2 separate regions of the Homo sapiens genome follow, and region 2 is linked to region 1. Evidence: promoter capture Hi-C in 16 types of primary human blood cells and fetal thymus (Javierre and others, 2016). All regions are on one chromosome and are shown on one strand. Each heading gives the region's core, a stretch centred on a gene start or on the middle of the fragment in contact. The rest is flanking DNA. Distances are from core to core; before and after follow the strand shown. Region 1 holds the start of SLITRK4 (SLIT and NTRK like family member 4). Region 2 has its middle 67 kb from the start of SPANXN3.

The links. The method cuts DNA at HindIII sites, captures the fragments that hold promoters and counts their contacts. A CHiCAGO score of 5 or more calls a contact.
Region 2: a fragment that was not itself captured here is called in contact with the fragment with the promoter of SLITRK4 in region 1 in 1 of 17 cell types (M2 macrophages); the score reaches 5.2 in M2 macrophages.

The regions. Positions count from the first base shown.
Region 1 is chrX:143,634,589-143,642,475 of GRCh38, forward strand. SLITRK4 (SLIT and NTRK like family member 4) reads right to left here and starts at 1,513. Exons shown (of 2, transcript NM_001184749.3): 1 at 1,147-1,513. The HindIII fragment of the contact is 4,708 bases long and covers 1-1,705 here.
Region 2 is chrX:143,446,594-143,454,480 of GRCh38, forward strand. No RefSeq gene overlaps it. Among named protein-coding and RNA genes, the nearest start is that of SPANXN3, 67 kb to the right of the region's middle. The HindIII fragment of the contact is 2,597 bases long and covers 2,525-5,121 here.

The sequences.
Region 1 (7,887 bases), core at 263-2,762:
CCTCAGCGGCATGAGACCGCGTCGTAGGCAGGCAAGTGGGAGGTGGAGGGCAGGATTAGCCACCTCGGCCACTTTGGCCACTCAACCGGCCCCAAACCAACAGGACCCAAACTAAAAATAATAAGCTACCTGCCCCCTCGGCTCGCGTGCGCGCGCGCGAGATCTCTCTCTCTCTCTCTGTCTCTCTCTCACACACACACACGCACGCACACGCGCTACTGAGCTGAGCGGGGAAGAGGCAGCACGCGTGTCGGTGCAGCTTGTGCAGCCCCCGCTGAAAATTCACCCACCTCTAGAGCCCAGCGTCTGGTGCAGGGCCCGCGGCGCCGTGACCTGCGCTGCTGTTTCCACGATGGTATCTATGTGATTCCGGACAGAGCTCCTCCGCGCCCGCTCGCCCGTCAAACCCACGGAGCAGCCCCAGCAGGCGAGCAGGCGGGCCGGCGGGCAGGCGGGCAGCGGCGCGCGCGCGCACCCGAGCAGACACCGCGCGCGCACCCAGCGCCTAGCACACGGGCTGCACCTTTACATACACGCGCTGAATCCCCGCCCCCGCTCTCCACCACCCCCCCCCACCCCGCACACAAGCAGTCCTTCCTCCCGACACTCGACCACTTTGACCCCCTCACATTCCTGAGCTCCTACCCCCGTCCCCCATCCAGACATGCCCATTTGATTCCTCTTCTACCCACACACCCAGAAAGACAGCGCGCTTTCCTCCCGGCATCCGCCCCCTCTTTTTGCCTAAAACATTCCCTAGGGAGGAGCGACCCCTTTCCTCAGGCGTGGAGACCCCAGTCCTCTAACAAGGGCGCACTCGCCTCCATCCCCCCCACCACATACACACACACTCGAGCCCTTTTCTTCTCTTCCAGTCCCCTAATAACGAAGGAACACACACACACACACACACACACACACACACACACACACACACACACGGGGCATTCCTTTGAGAGAGCAACCAAGAAGCCAGGAAAAGCCAAAGAAACACTGGAGAGCCTGGGGGAGGGGGGCCGAGGGAGATCGATAGGGTCGTCGAGTCTACGCGGAATTGAATAATTACAGGATGGAGGGGAATGAGTCAACAACAATGACATTCAAATGCAACAATCATACTTGGATTTTGTATCACGGGTACGGTACCTTTGGCTAATTGTCACCCCGCAGAACGGAGGGCTCCTGGAATACTTCTCCGTGGCGGTCGATCCTGGAAGGAGCCTTCTTGGGAACCAATTTCCTAGGATCCAGTAGTATTCGCACTCCCCCTACCTGTCTGCGCGTAAGGGGCCAGGGGCTTTAAGGCGAAAGTGTGAGGCTTTAGCCTAAAGTGAGACTATTTAGCCGGGTTAGAAGGAGACGGGTTAATTATCCGCACCTTAGAACTCCGTGGGCCTTTGGTGCAGAATGGGTTAAGCCGGATGATCTTGGAGCTGGGGGTGGGGATAGGGGATAGGGGATAGGGGTTGAGGAAAGAGAGGCGTGGGACTGGGAGAGATGCCGCACTTGCGACCAAAAGAAAAAAAAAAAAAAAAACTACTTTGGCTACTGAGCATGCCCAGTTCCCAGCTCAAGCCCTATAAGGGAGGCATTGTGTGCATTCCACTTCTCCGGGCTTTGGTGGTGACCGGGAGGGGAGTTTGACTGGGGAAGGGGGTGGTAGTTGGGAGACATTAGGGAAAGGGGGTTGGAGAACAAGGTTTGAAGCTTTGGGACTGCTCAGGAGGGACTGTGAAGAGAGAAAGGGAAGGGACCCACGGAGTACCTTCGGGAGACGGGGAGAAGGAGAGGAAATGGACTAAGAAAAGTCACTTCAGTCGCCCCTCATTGTGTATACCAAAGAGGCTTTAGCAGCTGAATCTGAAATATCCAGTGGCTGCAAATCCAACGTGTGGATTGTCTAGGCCCCTTCTTCTACCCTTTTTGTTAGTGCTTCCACAAGAGATAAGAAATATTCTGAGGAAGGGCCAATGTTCAAACCAGTTTCATGCAAATTGATAATTTCGTTAATAAGCTTGTTAAGAAAATAAATAAACCTGGGGGAGGGGAGCAGAGAGGAGTTGGCTATCATGTATGTATTTCAGATACCTGGCTTTCCTAAACAAAAGGCATAAACATTGGATGTGCTCCCATCCCCCAACCTTGCTGTTTTTTGTAGGAGCTTGGCTAAGAAAAACAACTCTCTCTCTCTTCGTGTCTGTGGGAATAAACTAGCTTTAGGTAAGTAGAGCTAAGTTATAAATGGGAAGTATTTCCCTAGGACTCTTGGTAGCCTATTATTTGCCACATTCAGGTAATACTGCCAGGCCCATTTCTTCAGGACCAGTGTGTTGCCCAATTTACTTATTCAAATCCCAGCGGCTCTAGCCACAATAGAGCACAACCGGTATCCAGAAATGTTCTTGCTTAAAAATGAAAAAAAAAATCTTTAAGCTAAAACTAGCAACAGCTTTGAAACCAGAATTTGGCTGTCTGCCTGAACTCCTACAGTTAAACATTTACCATAATTGGTTGATGTTTAAAGGCCCCAAATCTAGGTAGAAACATCTGATGGGCAAAGGATTTATTACATTATTTGTGAATAATGGTCTACCTTCTGTATCATCTATAGTAGTCATTCATATACATGTTTCATTGTTTTTCATTTTTTGTCATTTTATGGGACTTCCGTCAGGTTATATTCACACAAATGTTCACCGGGCACAACATGTATACAGAGATGCACGTACAATATGTAAATGAATACTTAAATAGATATGCGTGTATGGGCATATTTCTTTATGACCTTGCTAAATATTGTGTCGTTCATGAAGAACTCTTTCTCTACCTTCACTCCACATTGCCTTGAAAACTGTAATCATCCTCTCTTTTACAAACAACCTAGAGACAGAAATTGGGCAGCATTGGTAAAATTTATCTTATTCAATGTGAAATCCATTATGAAATAGCATTAAGGAAACACTAAAATATTTGTCTATAACAGCGTATGTAATTGTGCAGCTCCTTTTAGCAAAGTGAATGATGTTTCCTTCATAGGTAACAGCTGCAGAATGTTGAAAAATCCCTCTACTCTTGCACACTTGGACAAAACAGATCCTGCTAATTAATAACTCACATTTGCATTTTATTGTGTAATGCAGTTTGAAAGTAGTAATGGGTATCAAAACAAGTTGGCATTTATTCTAAATGCTAACAATTCAGGAAGCTGAATATATTTTATCCAGATAGGTGAAATGTTTGTCTTTTACTACAAATGTTAACAAGAGTCAATAGAATGAGCAAAAAAAGTTTACCTGAAAATTCTAAGTAATGTGATAACTGAAAAGGCCAGATTTGGACAGTAAATATCAGATGATTTAAATGCCTATCTTTATTCAACTTTAGAAACTGTTCTGAGACTTGGCTATATTTAACTGCAATAACTGTGAAATGTTATTTTTCATATGGATATGGAGACAAATCTGAAAGCCACTGTAGCTAGATCATCGATAAATTACAATTCATAATATTCCTAAGAACTTATCTGTGATTAATATTCAACTTTTTTAAATGAATGCTTTAAAATAAAATGTTTTGCTACTTAAAAAGATAAAGTGGACACTCATAAAATAAAACAGAAGTAACAACTTCCATGTTTTATGCTTATTTTGCTTTCAAAGTAATTAACCCAATCCTTTAGTCCCACAGTCCCTTTTCCGTCCCCTAGAACTACAGGTGACATCCCAATAGAACAGTAGGAAATGACACAGAATTGCTAGCTTAACAAAGGAAGTGAATATATACATAAATAAAAGTGTTAAGAAAACTCCAGCACTATTTATGGCCATTGAAAGAAAAACAAAATTGATGTTCTTCCTAAAATGTAAGCATGCAAATATTGTGAGTTTTGCAATACTCTCACGGTCTTCCTCCAAATGTTTTACCTTATTTCATCTTGACTTTTTAGGAGTACAACCAGAATCGTAGGTCTACACTGATATACTGTGTCTCCCTCCATCAGGGAAAAAAACAACTGCACTAAGAATTTCAACAAGATCCTGTATACCCTCCGTTCCGAAGGCAGTTTGGAATTAAGTCATTAAAACACTACCAACCGAAAGTGATTATAATGCCAAGTCTTGGCCCTAGTCAGCGGTCTTTCACTTTCACTGTATTCCTCATTTATCTTGCCTTGTCTTAGGCTGCTGCTCAAAATCAAATCAGCCTTAATTTTCGTATCCAGGTATCACAGATGATTCAGTGTATTTTAATATTGAAGATTTATTTATATTCTGGCATTTTAACAGTTACAAACTTGCTATTTCTCTTTCATTTTTATTTATTTATTTTTGAGACAGAGTCTCACTCTGTCACCCAGGCTGGAGTGCGTTAGTGTGATCTCGGCTCACTGCAACCTCTGCCTCCTGGGTTCAAGCAATTCTCCTCCCTCAGCCACCTGAGTGGCTGGGATTACAGGCATGTGCCACCATGCCCGGTTAATTTTTGTATTTTTAGTAGAGATGGAGTTTCACCATGTTGTCCAGGCTGTTCTCAATCTTCTGACCTCAGGTGATCCGCCCATCTCGGCCTCCTAAAGTTCTGGGATTACAGGCGTGTGCCACCGTGTCCGGTCACACACTTGCTATTTCTCTAAGTGGAATACAAGAAAGTTCTTAGGATGTTAATATATCTTCTGGGAAGAAATGTTTCCATGATCAAATAAGTTTAAAAGACCCTTGGTTCCGTAAAGCTAAACATTTTATTTTTACTTTGGGATTTTTCAACACAATTAATTATGTTTAAATGAGCTTTTATTTACCAAGGGAAAAGGGATATGGCATGTGGCATTTCACAGACTTACTTAACAATGGAACCCTTTTTTCTATCTATATAATTTGAAAAACATACTAATAGCCCATTTTTACAAATTTTCTGGAATTTAGAACATGAAAGGAAGTTTTCAGATCATAATTAACCCATTCAATAGTAGCTACTGTCTGTTGAGTGCCTCTTCTTTGCTGTGCTGCCTACAAATATTATTTCATTTAGTTCTATGAACAAGGAAGGGATTATCATACTTATTTTAAAAATGAGGTTAAGTGACCAGGCATGGTGGCCCATTCCTGTAATCCCAGCACTTTGGGAGGCTGAGGTGGGGAGATCACTTGAGCCCAGGATTTCAAAACCAGCCTGGGCAACATGGGAAAAATCGTCTCTACAACAAATACAAAAATCAGTGGTGCATGGTGGCACATGCTTGTAGCCCCAGCTGCTTGGAAGGCTGAGGCGGGAGGATCACTTGAGCCCAGGAGGTCAAGGCTGCCATCAGCTGTGGCCATGCCACTGCGCTGCAGCCCAGCCAACAGACTGAGACTCTCTCAAAATAAAATAAAATAAAATAAAATAAAATAAAATAAAATAAAATTCAGGGAAGGTAAACAGTTTGCCCGAGGTCACATGGTGAGTAAGTGATGGTCAAGATTTGACCCCAGATCTTTGAGGTTTTTCCAGTACACCACATTTTCGTTTTCACAGGGGGATTAGGGAATTTTTAACTTTGAAAGCAGAATAGACTTGAAAGCTGGGCAGGGTGACTTAACGCCTGTATTCTCAGCACATTGGGATGCCAAGACAAACAGTCTGGGCAGCAAGGTGAAAAGCCATCTCTTTAAAAAATAAATTTAAAAAAATAGCCAGGCATCGTGGGGTGCACCTGTAGTCCCAGGTACTAGGGAGGCTGAGGTGGGAGGATCGCTCAAGCTTAGGAGGTCAAGGCTGCAGTGAGCCATCATCAAGCCACTGCACTCTAGCCTGAGCGACAGAGTGACCCTGTCTCAAAAAAAGAGAAAGGGATAGATTTGAAAGCAGAATAAATTTTCCAAAGATGAATACTTGAGACATAAATGTTTTCAAGTATTAAAGTATGAATACTCAGCACAGGAATAAACAAATAAATGACATTAAAAACAGTTCACATCAATTATGCATGACAAGGTCTCTTGAATCAACTGATTTTACCTTTTGCCAGTAGTAGCCTTGTTCTATCCATTCTGCTCTTTCAACTCTCATACCTGAGTTGATTCTGAATCTGTGATGATGTCTCAAATGTTCCTTATTAGGGATAATCACTTTCACTATCACCAAATGAAGCCATGTGTATTAGTCAGTGTTCTCTAGAGGGACAGAACTAATATATATACACACACACACACACACACACACACACACACATATATATATACACACACTTATATATTTTATATATACATATATATATATATATATATATATATATATATATATATATATATGGGAGTTTATTAAGTAGTATTAACTCACATGATCGCAAGGTCCCCCATTAGGCTGTCTGCAAGCTGAGGAGCAAGGAATCCAGTCTGAGTCGCAAGGCTAAAGAACTTGGAGTCTGATGTTCAAGGGCAGGAAGCATCCAGCATGGGAGGAAGATGTAGGCTGGGAGGCTAAGCCAGTCTCACCTTTTTACATTTTCCTGCCTACTTTACATTCCCTGGCAGCTGATTAGATGGTGCCCACCCACATTAAGGGTGGGTCTGCCTTTCCCAGCCCCCTGACTCAAATGTTAATCTCCTTTGGCAACACCCTCACAGACACATCCAGGATCGATACTTTGCATCCTTTAATCCAATCAAGTTGACGCTCATTATTAACCACCACACCAAGCAAAGCAGTAGTGTTCATCCCTAGACTTATTCCAGTTAAGACAAAAGGATTGTTATAAAATAGGATACCAAATGAATTGGAAAATGTGAGACTAGTTGATTATTTGATTAGGTTATATCAATTAACCTGACCTTCCATTTTGCTCAGACTTCTTTATAGTACAGCTGGTAACCTGGTGTCCTTTTCAGAAACTCAGGCATCAGGTGTGAATGTATTACAGTCTGTGTAGCAAGGCATTGGCTAATTTTTCAAATAACACTTCACTCAGAAATTATTATTTCTAGAATAATAATAAAGAGGGGTATGTTGTTTTGCAGGGTCTTTGTAACTTTGGCCCCTAATGGGTACTTGTCCCTATGGCTAACTAGAACTACCTATGTGGTTTAGAATATTGCTAAGCCAGGGATGCTGACAAAATAGTGTCTCTTTTCTATATATTCTCTAACTTGGAGAAATCTCACTGTCAAAGATTAGGGCCCAGCCACAAGCTCAACAGCCCTCAGACAACTCAAAGATAATAAAGATCATAAAATAAAAAATAGGAAGTTAATAGCTAAACAGTCTAGTGTGAGAATTACTCTTATGGGCTGTAAAAGTTCCATAACACCAACTGAAGCTTTATCAGAGAGATAGTAAGTTGATAAAAATCTTTCTGTTTTTATCGTGTTCCACTCTATCTCGGGAACCACAGTGTTGTCCCTAGCTAGCAAAACATTATTGTTTTGCAAAAGCATTGAGGGTCTTTTTTTCAATGCTTTTATAACAATATTACTTTTCCTTAGAAATATAAACTTAAATCTTTCTTTCAAAAGTGATCTTAACTGGAGTGAGATAATATCGAAAAATAACTTGAAAGAATGGATGAGACTCACTACTTGATAGCACAACAGGGTGGCTATAGTCAATAATAACTTAATTGTACATTTAAATAATTTAAAGAGTAATTGGATTGTTTGTAACTCAAAGGACAAATGCTTGAGGGGATACATATCCCATTCTCCATGATGCGCTTATTTCACATTGCATGCCTGTATCAAAACATCTCATGTACCCCATAAATATATATACCTACTATGTACCCACAAAAATTAAAAATAAAAAAAATAAAAAGTTGATCTTGTTCTCAGCTCCTCCTCCTTTGTTTTAGAGGCTCTTGAACAATTCAAAAGTTGGGTCAAAACCGGAGGCATAAAACAAGGCAGAAAAGGC
Region 2 (7,887 bases), core at 2,573-5,072, 190 kb before region 1:
ACTTACCATTGACTCTACTCCAACCCCCAACTCTTTCAACTTGACAACTTTAGAACCTAATATGCACTAGACATGGTAACTTTTAGAAGTTTCATCCCATGTTGTACCATATATACTGAAATTTATTAATTTCTTAATAATTAAATTAATCTCTTAATATCTATGCACAGTGGTAGACTTCAGATGCATGTGACTACATGTCATAATGTTAAAGAGTCAATCAAACATTTATTCATTTTTACTTTTTTTTTTTTTTTTCCCACTCGGGAGCTAATTTTGTTTTTAGGTCTCAACCATTTCCACAATCTCATGCAAAGCTCACAGGTCCCATATTCTGTTCCTTCCATGCCAAATGGATAAAATGGCTCTTCCTGGTCCCCCTCTATCTTCTAAGGGCTGATAAAGCATAGACAATTCAGGCATACTTGACTTTATGCCTATATATGTTCCTGGAAAAGTCCACTGGCTTTGCATTTATTCAACTGAATTCTTGCCGAATGTACTGTCCAATAAAGATGACCCTTAACTGGGAGTAAAGTGATGGAGCTCCCCTCGTCCTGGCTTAACCATTTATGAAATCAATGACCCAGAGACCTCTGAAGCCTCGTGTATAGAAAAGATATTAAATCTAGCTTTACTTTCCCATGTGATTCCTGTAATAATCCAGTGATATTACGTCAGAGAAAGCACATTGGAAACTGTAAAATACTTACAGAATATTAAGAACCACCTTCTATATTCGTTTTTTTTTTTTTTTTGAGATGGAGTCTTGCTCTGTTGCCCAGGCTGGAGTGCAGAGGCACAATCTCGACTCACTGCAACCTCCGCCTCCCAGGGTCAAGCAATTCTCCTGCCTCAACCTCCCAAGTAACTGGGACTACAGGCGGACGCCGCCACACCCAGCTTATTTTTTGTATTTTAGTAGAGATGGGGTTTCATCTTGTTGCCCAGGCTGGTTTCTGAGCTCAGGCAATCCACCTGCCTCAGCCTCCCAAAGTGCTAGGATTACAGGCGTGAGCCACTGCACCTGGCCCAACCTTCTATATTCTTTACAGCAGATTTCCATAGTGATAAAAAATATTTAAAATACAAACACTCCATTTTCTAAGCTATAAATCGGAATTGGTATAGCAGATTTCTCTAAAGCAAGACCTCTCTGTTTCAACTAAAGTAGCACAAGAAGGAAATCTCCAATCAATGTCTCCATGTAGATATCTAAGTCAATTAGTAGAGCATTTTAATTAGATTAGACTCATTTTGAATGTTGTTTATGAAATGTATTTAATTTTTTTTCTGTTTTGGTTTTGCATGTTGGTTTCTGTAGCTGTCCATGTAGTTATGGCAGTTTTGCAACACACACAGGGCAGAAAAAAAAACAAACAAACAAAAAAAACAGTTGTTTAGTCTAAAGGCAAGACAGAGATTCTGTGTCTACATTGTATATAAAGCCTCCTGGCTGTGAATATTAACCTCTAGTATAATGAATACCTTGTATTTCTTGTATATCAGGCCAGAGCTCTTCTTATACTGCCAGGCATCCAGCAGCCTCTAAAGACTGGGAGTAGCTGCTGCCCCAAATGGCTGGGTATCATGAAAACCCTTCTACTGTGCAGTGTGATCATGGAGGAGGTCCACGGGAGAGATTGGAACTTCAAATAAAATATTTACAGTCTATTTGAGTTAATGAAATAGTTTCCTATCAGCTGGATGTGTGTGTCTATGTGTGCCCACATTTTTGCAAATAATACTGAGCAATTCTATCAGAGAATTGAGACTAGTGATACCTTTGAAAGCCCTCCTGACTGTAACAGATACTGTTTATTAAGGACGTTATTTTGTTTGAAATACACATCATTTGGCTGTTCCATTTTTATTTTCTGCTCTCTTGCCTCTGTAGGTTTTCAAGTTGAACTACTTAGAAAATGTTTACAGCTTTAATTTTTTCCCATAACTGAATGCGATTTTTTTCTTTGATTTTTCCCCCTAAGGATCATTTTGCCATTTTGATTTTGCCCAATGAGATGTCAAGGAAGGTATACTAACATTTATTGAACCCCTGCTATGTTACAGATAACTAGACACTAGGTGCCTCCTATGTACATTATTCAATTCCATCCACGAGACTGTGAGGCACAGATGACCATTACCTTCAACATACAGATGAGAAACTGATGCTTTGACTTCAAAACAGGTGACTGGACACTTCCCATTACTAATAGTAAATTCATTTTTATTCTTGTTTTCTATAGAAAAAATGCTCTTTTCCTCTCTTCTTACAATAGTACCTGTTCTTATCTTTAAAAGCCACTTCATTCTTGGAAGCATTATTAAGTGAAACTGAAAAATAAATAAATGAATAAATAAATAAATAAATAAATAAAAGCTTTCTCTTGAAGTCTCCCAAATCAGAAGAATTTTCTCAGTAGGGGCAGATTAAAGTATGGCCCTCAAGAGATGGATGAAATGTCCTCTTTGGCAGACTTACAGTTCCCATCTGTAGACCATCAGTCACCTGCATTCTCAAAGCTTTAGCTTGCTCACTCCCTCTTTCAGCACTAATGTATTTGCTGAGTTTGTTGTTTACAGAGTTACCCTGAAGATATAAAGGAGAGAATGTAAAACGAGGGAAAGACCTCCTTTCTTCAGCTGTAAATAAGCCTGCTCAAGTTGACCTCTCATGGTAGTTTTAAGTATAAATTAGGAAACATCTCAAGTTCATGAGTCCTCTAAGTGAAAAAACAAGAAAGGAAAGTCACTAATTTCAATGAAGGAGCAGCCAATTCATCCGAAATGATCTACCTAAAGGCTTTATCTTGACACATTTAAAAAAACATTGGGCCAGGCACTGTGGCTCACACCTGTAATCCCAACACTTTGGGAGGCTGAGGTGGGTGGATCACCTGAGGTCAGGAGTTCAAGACCAGCCTGGACAACATGGTGAAACCTCATCTCTACTAAAAATACAAAAATTAGCTGGGCGTGGTAGAGGATGCCTATAATCCCAGCTACTTGGGAGGCTGAACCAGGAGAATCGCTTGAGCCCAGGAGGCGGAGGTTGCAGTGGGCTAAGATCACACCACTGTACTCCAGCCTGGGTGACAGAATGTGACTCCATCTCAATAATAATAATAATAATAATAATTTTAAGTGCCTCTATGTTTTTTAAACAAATTTAAGATCTGGCTGACTTCTTAAGGTAAATGTTGAACATAATAATTTCATAATGAAATGAAAGCAGATTTTATTTAGCCCAGCATCTATATGAAAAATTAAGAGAGCAATAGATAAAATATGTTTTTATATTATAAATTCATGTTTTACATTCACTTTAGAAAGTAATACAGCATTGAGTTTATTAATCTAATGATCTCTGACTTGTTTGATAATTTGATAATCTGCTTAGAGCAGTCCAAATTATTCTGTTTCTTCTATACCTTGTAAAATGATTATAAAATAGTTATTACTATTTTCATTAATAGAGTACTTACTACATGCTAGGTATTTGTTTAAGAACTCTGTTTATTATTCAATTTAATTATCAAAACAACTTTTTAAGGTATGAATTACTATCTCTACTCTCCAGATAAGAAGGAGGGTTGGAGAAGAGTAATTTAGCCAAAAGTCATTCTATCAGTAACTGACAATTAAACCTAAACCCTACTCTATCAGATTCCAGAACCCATGACTTAACTACTAGACTACACGGTCTGAGGCTTAGGTAGAAATAATGAGTAGATTCATCTTTGAAATGGCTAGTGATTTACAACTCTTGGGTAAGTAGCAAGTCCCTCACATCTCAAGAAGGTCTTTGTTTTTATCTACAAATTGAAGCCAAAAGGTTTACTAGGGATCAAATAAAATGACAGTTTATTCCCAAACATCTGTGGAATAAATAAACTAAAGAGGCAAGGAATTCTTAATCAAGGTAGCATGGGGAATATGAAGCCCAAGGAATACATGTATCCTATATAGACCAAAGGAGGTATGTGGCTCATGAAAGGATATTTGGCCAAGAGGAATATGTGGTCTGAGGGAAATATTAATATGTGGCCCAAATTGGCCCAAGTACCATCAGCCAATCTGCAGTCCTGTATCCATGGCCAACATTATACTGTGATCATGAAATTTTTCCTACTGAATCTGAGCTTATGCTCAAAATTCTTCAAGAAATAGTCCCTCAAGTAGGAAATATAGGGCTGTCTTTAGAGTTAGCATGCGAAATGAAACTATTTGCTTATCGCTGAGAAAAATTTGAAAGTTGACTTAAGCAAGGTACATGTTTCTAAGCTACGGTGTTCTAAGTTATAAAGTACTAAGAAAACTTGTACTTAATGTATAACTTATGGTGATAGAACTGAAATGACCTCTTCTAAATGAGAAAGTAAATTTGATTTTTTCTTTTAAACAATATTTGCTCTTAATTGCTTGTTATCTTGCACAAAACAGAATCCTTTTTGTTTGATTACTTTGATCTCTCTAGTTTTTGTCCCTTTTGGACATTAAAAAAAAATCACTGTCATCAATAAGTACATGCTGCTACTTTTGCACAGTATGATGGTTAATATTAGTGTCAACTTGATTAAATTGAAGGCTGCCTAGATGGCTGGTAAGGTACTGTTTCTGGGTGTACCCATGAGGGTGCCAAAAGAGATTGACATTTGAGTTAGGGGACTGGGAAAGGAAGACCCACCCTCGAATTGGGTGGTCACCATCCAATCAGCCGCCAGCATGAAAAAAAATAAATCAGGGAAAGAAGGTGGGATAACTTTGCTTGGGTCTTCTGGCTTTCTTCTTTTTTCCCATGCTGGATGCTTCCTTCTGCTCCTCCTGCCCTTGAACATCAGACTCCAGATTCTTCAGCCTTTGCACTCTTGGACTTACACCAGTGGTTTGCCAGGGACTCTTGGGCCTTTGGCCACAGACTGAAGGCTGCACTGTAGGCTTTTATGGTTTTGAGGCTTTCAAACTTGGACTGAGCCACTACTGACTGCTTTCTTCCCCAGCTTGCAGACAGCTTATGGTAGGACTTTGCCTTGTGTGACTGTGAGTCCCTCTGGAGAACCCTAACTTAACACACAGGGATTTGTAAGGTTTAAAAACTATCTTCCCAGATGAAAGCTAAGCTTGTGGCAGGTCTATAGATTACTTTGGAGGTGTTGTCCATGAATGTTCCAAAACTATGTTAAAATATCTAAGGAGAGGATCCATAGTTTTCCAAAGAGCAATGAAAGGTTTTTGGCTTAATCCCTCATGAAGCTCCATAATATCCACTGAGTCTATATGAAATATTAAGCACCATACTTGAATTGAGGTACAGAGATAATTACAAAACAGACACCAGCCTAATAGAGTCCACAGATGTGCAACTTCCTGCTCTGCAGGCACTGACTCCCCACCGGTCGTTCCTCATAGTGTTCCATAAAGTTAGTCTCCTGGAGGCATAGGGTGTCCTCTAGCCCAGCTTCCTAGCCATGTCAGCAGAGGCATTCCACTGAGAACTGCCCTGTTGCATGTCTCTTTGGAAAACATAGTCCTAGCTTCTCTTTCTAGGAGATGGAAAAATGCCTTGTATCCCTTCCCAATGAATTGCAGAATAAGAAAATAAAGCACTAGTTAATTTCTCAGTAGGTCACACTCTGATATGAAATTCCCAATAAATCACACTGCTACATTTTTAAAGATCACAGTTTGAAAAGATTGTTTCGAGTAAGAAGAGATTTGAGACAGAGACCAGTGAAGAAGCTATTGCAGTCATCCAGGGAAGCAATTACGATGGCCTGAAATAGAGGGCTGGCAATGGGGACAGAGAAAAATGCAAGGATGTTGAGAGATATTTTTCTAGGTAGAACTGATAGGAGCTTTGAGAAATGAGGCTCAAGGTGTAGGCCTGAAGGTGCCAACAAAGGATTTTGTATAACACATTAAAGGACTTAGACTTTATCCTAGAGAATAGAAGTTGCAAACTGGTAGTCCGTAATTCCAGTAACCTGCGGATCTATTTTATTTTCCCTACCCCACAGGATTAAAGAAATACATTACTTGCCAAAATGTAATTCAAGCTGAGTGGTGCTTGCTTCTTTTAGATAAGCCATGGATTCTCATATCTGCCATGATCCACCTGGGGCCAAATGTTCTATTGCCTGCCTAGACCCTATAGACAATTGATGTTGCTCCTCTTGTTGCAGGTATTGAACAGATCCTTAAATGTCTAAACCAGGGAGTGGCAGAAGCATTTTTTTTTAACTAGATCATCCGGGTACCATGCGGATAAATTGGAGAGAGACAAGATCAGAGATAGAAAGACCATTTAGGAGACTGTGGCAGTACTAGATATAAGAGAAGGTAAGGTGAGGCCTGAACTAAGTAGTCCAGATGGAATGGAGAGAGCAGCTTCCAGAAATGTTTAAGGATCAGAACCAATAGAGCTTGGTGATTGGTTGAGATACAAAGGATGGGGTAAAGCAGTCAAGGATAACTGACTTAGGTTTCTGGTTGTATCTGGATTGAGGTAAAAAACACAGCAGAAGAAGCTGGTTGAAAAACATTGATTCCTATATTGAATTTAAATTCATTAGGTATTTGCTAAGGGAAAATTAGAGCTGCTCAGTGAGTCATGGAATATATGAAAAACTAACACAAGATGCTTCTTGTCACCCTAAAAAGTCAATTTCAGAGGACAAAACCAGTTTCAGTACATTGGTTGGGTAATCAATTTCTTTTCCCAGGAGGTCACAGAACCTGACATGCTGTGGCCAAGATGTATGTATGTATATATTTCACTAGCAAAGTGAATGAGAACAAGATGAACCAAGATAAAATGAGAACAAAAATTCATTCCATTATTCCCATTATTTATTGTTCACTAAAGATGCAGCTCCATAGTATGGATAAGATGCCTATAGACATTCATTAAAAGATTACTACCATGTGTTGACACATATACTTAGTTCCATTTTCTTCTATGTCATCTAAGTCAGCCAGTGGTAATGAATGTATCCTATGGGGAAGATGCGAGATTAAGGCAAATTAAATTAAGTCATTTCTTCTCTCCACACACACAATGATACGTAGTGCAGTGAAGATGAGGGTTCACAATGATTACAGAAGTGTAAATATTTACCAATATTAAGATTTAAATGTCCTCAAATTATATGTAAATAGAGAGCCTTTAAGCCTTTACCAAAGGAAGATGAATCTCGATTTGCATTTCCATCTTTATTTACTATCAATTGTAAAGCCATTATCAGAAAAAAAAAGTCTATCTAAAACTGGAAGATTTTGCAAAGCTGACAAAGTGAAATAAATACCTTCTTTATCATGACTCAGTTTTCCCTTTGTTTAACTACCCAGAGGAAGAGATGAATGGTAGTAGAATTGAAAGAAATTAAACACAGACGACAACTTGTAGGCAAGTTGCAGACATAAATCTTTGATAATTTATATTAAAATTAATACTTATCACATTATCTTTCCAAGTCAAATAAGCAACCAGAAAGAGGCATTACTAATTTGTCAAGGATACTTCAGTCTGAATTATTGTATGTAGCATGAATTGAGAATCTTATTATGGTAAATTTGCAACTGATGTCTCCAAATCAAATTTGCCTCTTTTCTACTAGAAATGATGTATTTTTATCCAACGGATCTTTTTCCGTATTATCTATGCCTAGATGTTATTCTTACATTGATATATCGTGTTGCGTGTCAACAGTTTACATTCCCAGAAATGTAGCCCTTAATATCACCACCATGATCAAAATGATTATACAAATTATATTGCTGTTAGACTCCATGGCATCAGACTGAGGTGATGTAATTACGGCTTCCAAGCAATAACTTTTTTAGTTTTCTTCTTCCTATGTACACTATATCAAAACAATATGTTCA